2 separate regions of the Homo sapiens genome follow, and region 2 is linked to region 1. The links are contacts of gene promoters, found by promoter capture Hi-C in human tissues and cell types (Jung and others, 2019). All regions are on one chromosome and are shown on one strand. The core of a region is centred on a gene start or on the middle of the fragment in contact, and the rest is flanking DNA. Distances in the headings are between cores, read along the strand shown.

Region 1 (2,948 bases), core at 423-2,922:
TTTTCTTTTTGAAGTTTGGCCAATGGGACAGCATTCCCATCTGGCAACAATTAGCAAATCTGAGCAGGGGCCCCTCCTTTAGACTGAGAGTCTGCTCTGTTTTTTGTTATTATTGTTGTTGTTGTTGTTTGTTTGTGAGACAGAATCTCGGTCTGTCACCCAGGCTGGAATGTAGTGGTGTGATCTCGGCTTACTGCACCCTCTGCTTCCTGGGTTCAAGTGATTCTACTGGCTCAGCCTCCCGAGTAGCTGGTACTACAGGTGCAAGCCACCACGCCTGGCTAATTTTTGTATTTTTAGTAGAGATGGGGTTTCACCATGTTGGCCAGGCTGGTCTCGAACTCCTGACCTCAAGTGATCTTCCCGCCTCGGCCTCCCAAAGTGCTGGGATTACAGGCGTGAGCCACTGCACCCGGCTCCTGCTACTTCTGATGTGTGCATGCAGGAGGCCCAGCAGAGCCCAGCACCATTTCCCCATTTCACTTGTCTTTGCCTCCTGCCTGGCCCTGAGTTCGGGATCCCTTATCTCAGCAGAATTTGGAGGTGCATAAGAGGCAGGGAACACAGAGGGAGAGCATGCTTAGATGTGTGTGTGCTGGGAGGTGGGGGAGGCTGCATAAGCGCCCCCCGGAGAGATCTATGCCTAATCCTCAGAACTCGTAAATATGTTTCCTTACATGGCAAGGGGGGTTAAAGTTACAGATGAAGTTAAGGTTACTACTTAGCTGACTTTAAAATAGATTATCCTGGATTGTCAGGTAGGTCCCATTAATCCCAGGATCCTTAAATGCATAAGACCCAAAGAAATGCAGCGTGATAAAGATTTGGGCAGCCGTCGGTGGCTTTGAAGATGCAAGGGGTCCCAGAGCCAAGGAATGCAGGAGGCTCTAGAAGCTGGAAAAGGCAAGGAAGGAAATGAGCTCTGCCCTAGAGCCTCCAGAAAGGAAGGCAATCCTTCTGAGACCTTGATCTTAGCCTGCTGAGGCCCATTTGTTCTTCTGACCTCCAAAACCATAAGGTAATAAGTCTCTGCTGTTTCAAGCCACTAAGTGTGGGCATTTGTTATAGCAGCAATAGGAAACCAATACAGGATGTATGTGTGTAAGGCTGGAGAGGGTGGAGGTGGATAAAGGAGACTTTCCAGGGAGGGAGAGCCTCCGCTGTCCTCTCAGAGATGTGGCTTCTGGACCAGAGCCATCTGTACCAGCCTCCCTCTGCAGGGACCGCTTCAGCATCCCCCAGCACCACCTGATACCCCAATACCCTGGAGCACTCACTCCCTCTACTCATCCCAAAGGTCCTCTGCCAGGTGGACAGGCCCCAGGCAATTGGCTCTCAATGTGCCAAAGAGGTAACTGAGGCCTGGGAGAAGCATAGCCAGGAGGAGCACTCCACCTGCCGCAGGAGATGGCCAGACGCCACACCTGAGAACTCACGCTTTCTGGGAGGGCAGCCCGCTCCTTCCACAGATTCCCCACAGCCAAACAGGCCCAGGCAGGCTCCTGTCCACACCTGTGCTGAGAACGCGGCCGCAAAATTGCCAGGGGTCATCATAATTTCTACTCTCCACACCCTCCCGGCCCTGCCTCCCTGTAGGCAGGACCGCAAGCCAAAGCCAGGGCCCACCTGACCACAATCCAGGCCCAGCCAGACCCTTGGAAGCAGAACCTTTGAGCTCCACTGGTGTCCAGGAAGTAGTGTCACAATGGGGTGGGGAGGTCCTTGGGGTGAGCTGGGAATGGTGAGGGTCAGCATTCTACTCCAGGGACACAACTGGCTGTAGCCTCCAGGGGCAAGGCAGGTCAGGAAAACTGCCACACGAACCCCCCTGCCCCTGTCTTTGTGCAGGCTGTTTCCTCCACACGAGGGCTCCACCTCCACTCTCGGAAATTCTCCTGTCCTTCCAGATATCACTCATTTATCAACTATCCTTCAAGCCTTCCTGAGCCCACAGCTGGAAATGGCTTGGCCCTACCCCACTCACTTCTGCTCTGTCTCTCCGTGACACTCCCCTGCCAACCAGCCTTGGTCAGAGCTGCCGGGGTCTGACCCATCTCCCCCATAAGCTAGAAGCCTCCTCTGCCAGATTGCAGGAACAGGGCTTCAAGCTTCATGCTTGGGGGAAGGGAGGCCAAAGTGGCAGGACAGGAAAACCAGCACAGGGCCTAGTACAAGGCAGACCATCCTTGTACCAGTACAGCATGTACTTAGGACCTCAACAAAATTAGAGCATTGCTATGGCTTAATATTTGTCCTCTCCAAAACTCATGTTGAAACTTCATCTCCAGTGTGGTAGCGTGATGGGGCCTTTAAGATGTAATTGGGTCATGAGTGTAATCTGTTAATCCATGAATCACCAATCATGGATTAGTAGATTAATGGGTTAATGAGTTATGAGAATGGGACTGGTGACTTTATAACAAGAGGAAGAAAGACAAGCTAGCTTGCTCGGTTCCCTCACCTGTGCCCCCTTGGGAGACTGCAGAGTTCCCAACAGCAAGAAGGCCCTTACCAGATGTATTCCCTAAACCTTGGACTTCCCAGCCTCCAGAACTGTAAGAAATAAATTTCTTTTCTTTATAAATAACTCAGTTTCAAGCAGTCTGTTATAAGCAACAGAAAATGGACTAACACAGACACTTAAGACACAAAAAAAAATTAAAAGAATTTCATATATTTGAAAAAAAATGAAGTATTGATCACAGGGAAACCTACTTACAGCTCTTTTGCAGTTTCCTATGGCTCAATCTTCACTTGTTTGGGGGCAGGGCACTGCAATCTTATTGGTATCTGGGGCATCAGATCCTTCCTCTTTCACCAGACCTCCCTCGGGGTGTCTGCAGGTCACCTCAGTGGTTGGTCCTAGGCCCCTCATCCCCCCTAGAGTTCCCCACTCTTGAGCAGCAGCACTCTGGGGGTCAAAGGGACCAAGCAGACAGCACAGTGAG
Region 2 (3,189 bases), core at 387-2,886, 140 kb after region 1:
GGATCTCATTTGGATCTTCTGTTTTAGTTAGCCTTCTTTGACATCAAAACAATGCTGTCTGGTGGAGGTAGAAGTGCAGGTTACTCTATTGACATCCCAGGGTAGAGGTGAGGGAGAACAAGGGAGAGAGTGCCTAGTTACTGCTGGGTCAGGATGAGAGTTCAGGCTGCCCACTAAGTCTCCCCTGATACCACCTTGGCTGGGAGGGAGAAGGATGCCTTGTTACTACTCCCCATCTGGCCTCCACTGACATGATAGAGGACATTACTGCTGGGCAGTGGTGAAAGTCTTGACTCTCTACTAGACCCACTCTGACACCCAAGAAGGTGGGAGTGGAAATTTAGATTCCCCATTTTGCCTTTGCTGGCAGGGTGTAGGTAATACTACAATTTTTTCTATGGTTTAGCTGGAGTGGTTATTGTCTACAAACTTTCTTTCTTGCAAGACTGTCCCTTTCTGGTCGTTTGGCTAGTAAAAGCAGGTTTTCCTTTTTTTTTTTTCTTTTTTTTCCTTTACCTGTACTCATTAGTTTATAGGTTTCTGCCTTCTCCATACTCAGTCTGAGATCCATTAGGCATAGGCAAAAAGAAAACCCTAGGCTAGTGCCATGTCATTCCATAGGTCCTGAGGTCCCTAACCATTCTATCTTCTTCTCTCCACCTTTCAGAGTCTCCTTATATTTGTGTTTTATATAATGTCCAGGGTGTTTTGCCTGTATTTAGCAGAGGGAATAAGGAGAAGTGTTTTTACTCTATATTGTCTCAGAACCAGACATCCCCAAGGGCATTTAAAACATTTATTCTGTATCATCTGGCAAATAGCAGCCAGTGGGGACAATGTTCCCCTAAATTGATGGTGCGGCCCCTCATCTTCCACCCTTACCAGCCCAGTGTTCTGCTGTGTGAATTTTTTTTTTTTTTTGAGACAGAGTCTTGCTCTGTTAGCGCAATGGCATGATCTCAGCTCACTGAAACCTCAACCTTCCGGGTTCAAGCGATTCTCCTGCCTCAGCTACCCAAGTAGCTGGGATTACAGGAATGCACCACCATGCCTGGCTAATTTTTGTATTTTTTGTAGAGACAGGGTTTCACCATGTGTGCCAGGCTGGTCTTGAACTCCTGACCTCAAATGATCCACCCGCCTCAGCCTCCCAAAGTGCTGGGATTACAGGCATGAGCCGCTGTGCCCAGCCTGTCTTATTTCACTTAGCATAATATCATCAAAGTTATTTGATGTTGCAGCATATGTCAGAATGTCTTTCATTTTTAAAGCTAAGTAATAATCTTTTGTACATATATACCACATTTCATTTACCCATTCATCTGTTGATAGATGTTGGCTTGGTTATACCTTTTGTCTATTGTGAATAATGCTGCTACAAACATGGATATACAAACATGTCTTCAAGACCCTGCTTTCAATTCTTTGGGGTATATACTCCCAAGTGGAATTGCTGGGTCATATGGTAATTCTGTTTGTAATTTTTTGAGGAATTGCCATACTGTTTACTATAGCAGCTATGCCATTTTATATTCCCATCAAAAGTGATCAAAGGTTCCGATTTGTCCACATCTTCAATGTTTGTTATATATATATATATATATATATATATATATTTTTTTTTTTTTTTTTTTTTTTTTTTGATAGTAGCCATCCTAATGGGTATGAAGTGGTATCTGTCTCATGGTGGTTCTGATTTGCTTTCCCTAATTAGTGATATTGAGCATATTTTTATGTGCTTATTGGCCATTTGTATTTTTTTTCTTTTTGTTTGTTTCTTTTTTTTCTTAGATGGGGTCTCGCTCTGTTGCCCAAGCTAGAGTGCAGTGGTGCAATCTTGGCTTGCGGCAACCTTCGTCTCCTAGGCGATCTTCCCACCTCAGCCTCCCGAGTGGCTGGGACTACAGGTGCATGCCACTACGCCTGGCTAATTTTTGTATTTTTTTTTAGAGACAGGGTTTTGCCATGTAGTCCAGGCTGGTCTCCAACTCCTGGGCTCAAGCAATCCACCCGCCTCAGCCTCCCAAAGTGCTGAGATTACAAATGTGAGCCACCACACCTGTCCCTCATTTGTATATCTTCTTTGGAGAAACTTCTGCCCAAGTCTTTTGCCCATTTTTGAGTTAGGTTGCTTGTTTCTTTTGTTGTTGATTTCTAAGAGTTTTTTTTTTTATACATTCCAGATATTAACCCCTTATCAGATATATGACTCAATATTGTCTTTTTACAATTGCTCTGTTTGAGCCAGAATCCAACAAAGTTATACTATATCAGTATATTTGATCGTTATGACCCAAGTCTTATCTAATCTAAAGGAAATCCCTCTCCCCAATTCTCTCCCTGGTCATTGACTTGTGGCGGAATCCATCTCCATCGTCACACAGAATCGTAGTTTTGAATTTCAACTATGCTGCTGCCCTCCAAAGTTTCCTGCTTTGCCTTTGATAATTTCAGCGTAAATTTTCCTTATTGAAAAAGGAAAGTTTCTCTTTTAAATGCTCGTAGAGGACTAAAACTGAAAATGAGAAGAGGAAGCTTTATCTACATTTGGGAACACAGCTAATGGGAAGGAAGGCACTGGAGACAGGCAGGTGTGAGGAGTGTGAGGGTCAGATAGGGGTGGGGAGAGCACATTTGGGTCAACAGCCTGGCCTAAGAGAAGAGAGGCTTTTCCCAAGAGGGGACCAGCCCAGGACTGTCTTCCCAGCCATGGGCAGCACATGGCAGATCCTGGGGGCACCGCCAGGGCCACACTGTGGCTCTGCTCCCCAGGGGATGCTGGAGAGAAAGACTCGGCCTCAGGGGTTCTCTGAGTACACAGGGCCTTCCCAGGAGTCCCTGAGGGCACAGGGGCAAGGCTGGGGAGGCTACAGCATCCAGGTGGCTCAGGAGCCAGGACGTGGCAGCAGATAGACCATTGAGAAAAAAGCTACTGTCACTGACAATGTCTGAGCACTCTAAAATGTCACTAGAGTTCTCTCTGGAATTATGATGTGTGAGTTTTTTTCTTTATCTTTTCCAAATTTTCTTCAACAGTGAAAAAGCAATATTTTCTTTAAAAATAGATCAGTACCTTTAGGATTAACATAGATGTGCCCAAAGAAGATTATTAGGAGTAACAATGCAGTGCTCAGGGGCTGGAGTTGGGGGGTCCTCCAGACTCTCTTTGGAGCATAGATCAGCCCCTAC

Evidence for each region. The method cuts DNA at HindIII sites, captures the fragments that hold promoters and counts their contacts. A contact is called where the count stands out against the background at its distance.
Region 2: a fragment that was not itself captured here is called in contact with the fragment with the promoter of SLC22A14 in region 1 in 2 of the 25 tissues and cell types used here (liver and spleen).

What each region holds. Positions count from the first base shown.
Region 1 is chr3:38,281,018-38,283,965 of GRCh38, reverse strand. SLC22A14 (solute carrier family 22 member 14) reads right to left here and starts at 1,672. Exons shown (of 11, transcript NM_001320033.2): 1 at 1,627-1,672. The HindIII fragment of the contact is 14,250 bases long and covers 1-2,881 here.
Region 2 is chr3:38,143,286-38,146,474 of GRCh38, reverse strand. No RefSeq gene overlaps it. Among named protein-coding and RNA genes, the nearest start is that of MYD88, 6.2 kb to the right of the region's middle. RefSeq lists an enhancer at 2,545-2,604. The HindIII fragment of the contact is 3,478 bases long and covers 1-3,189 here.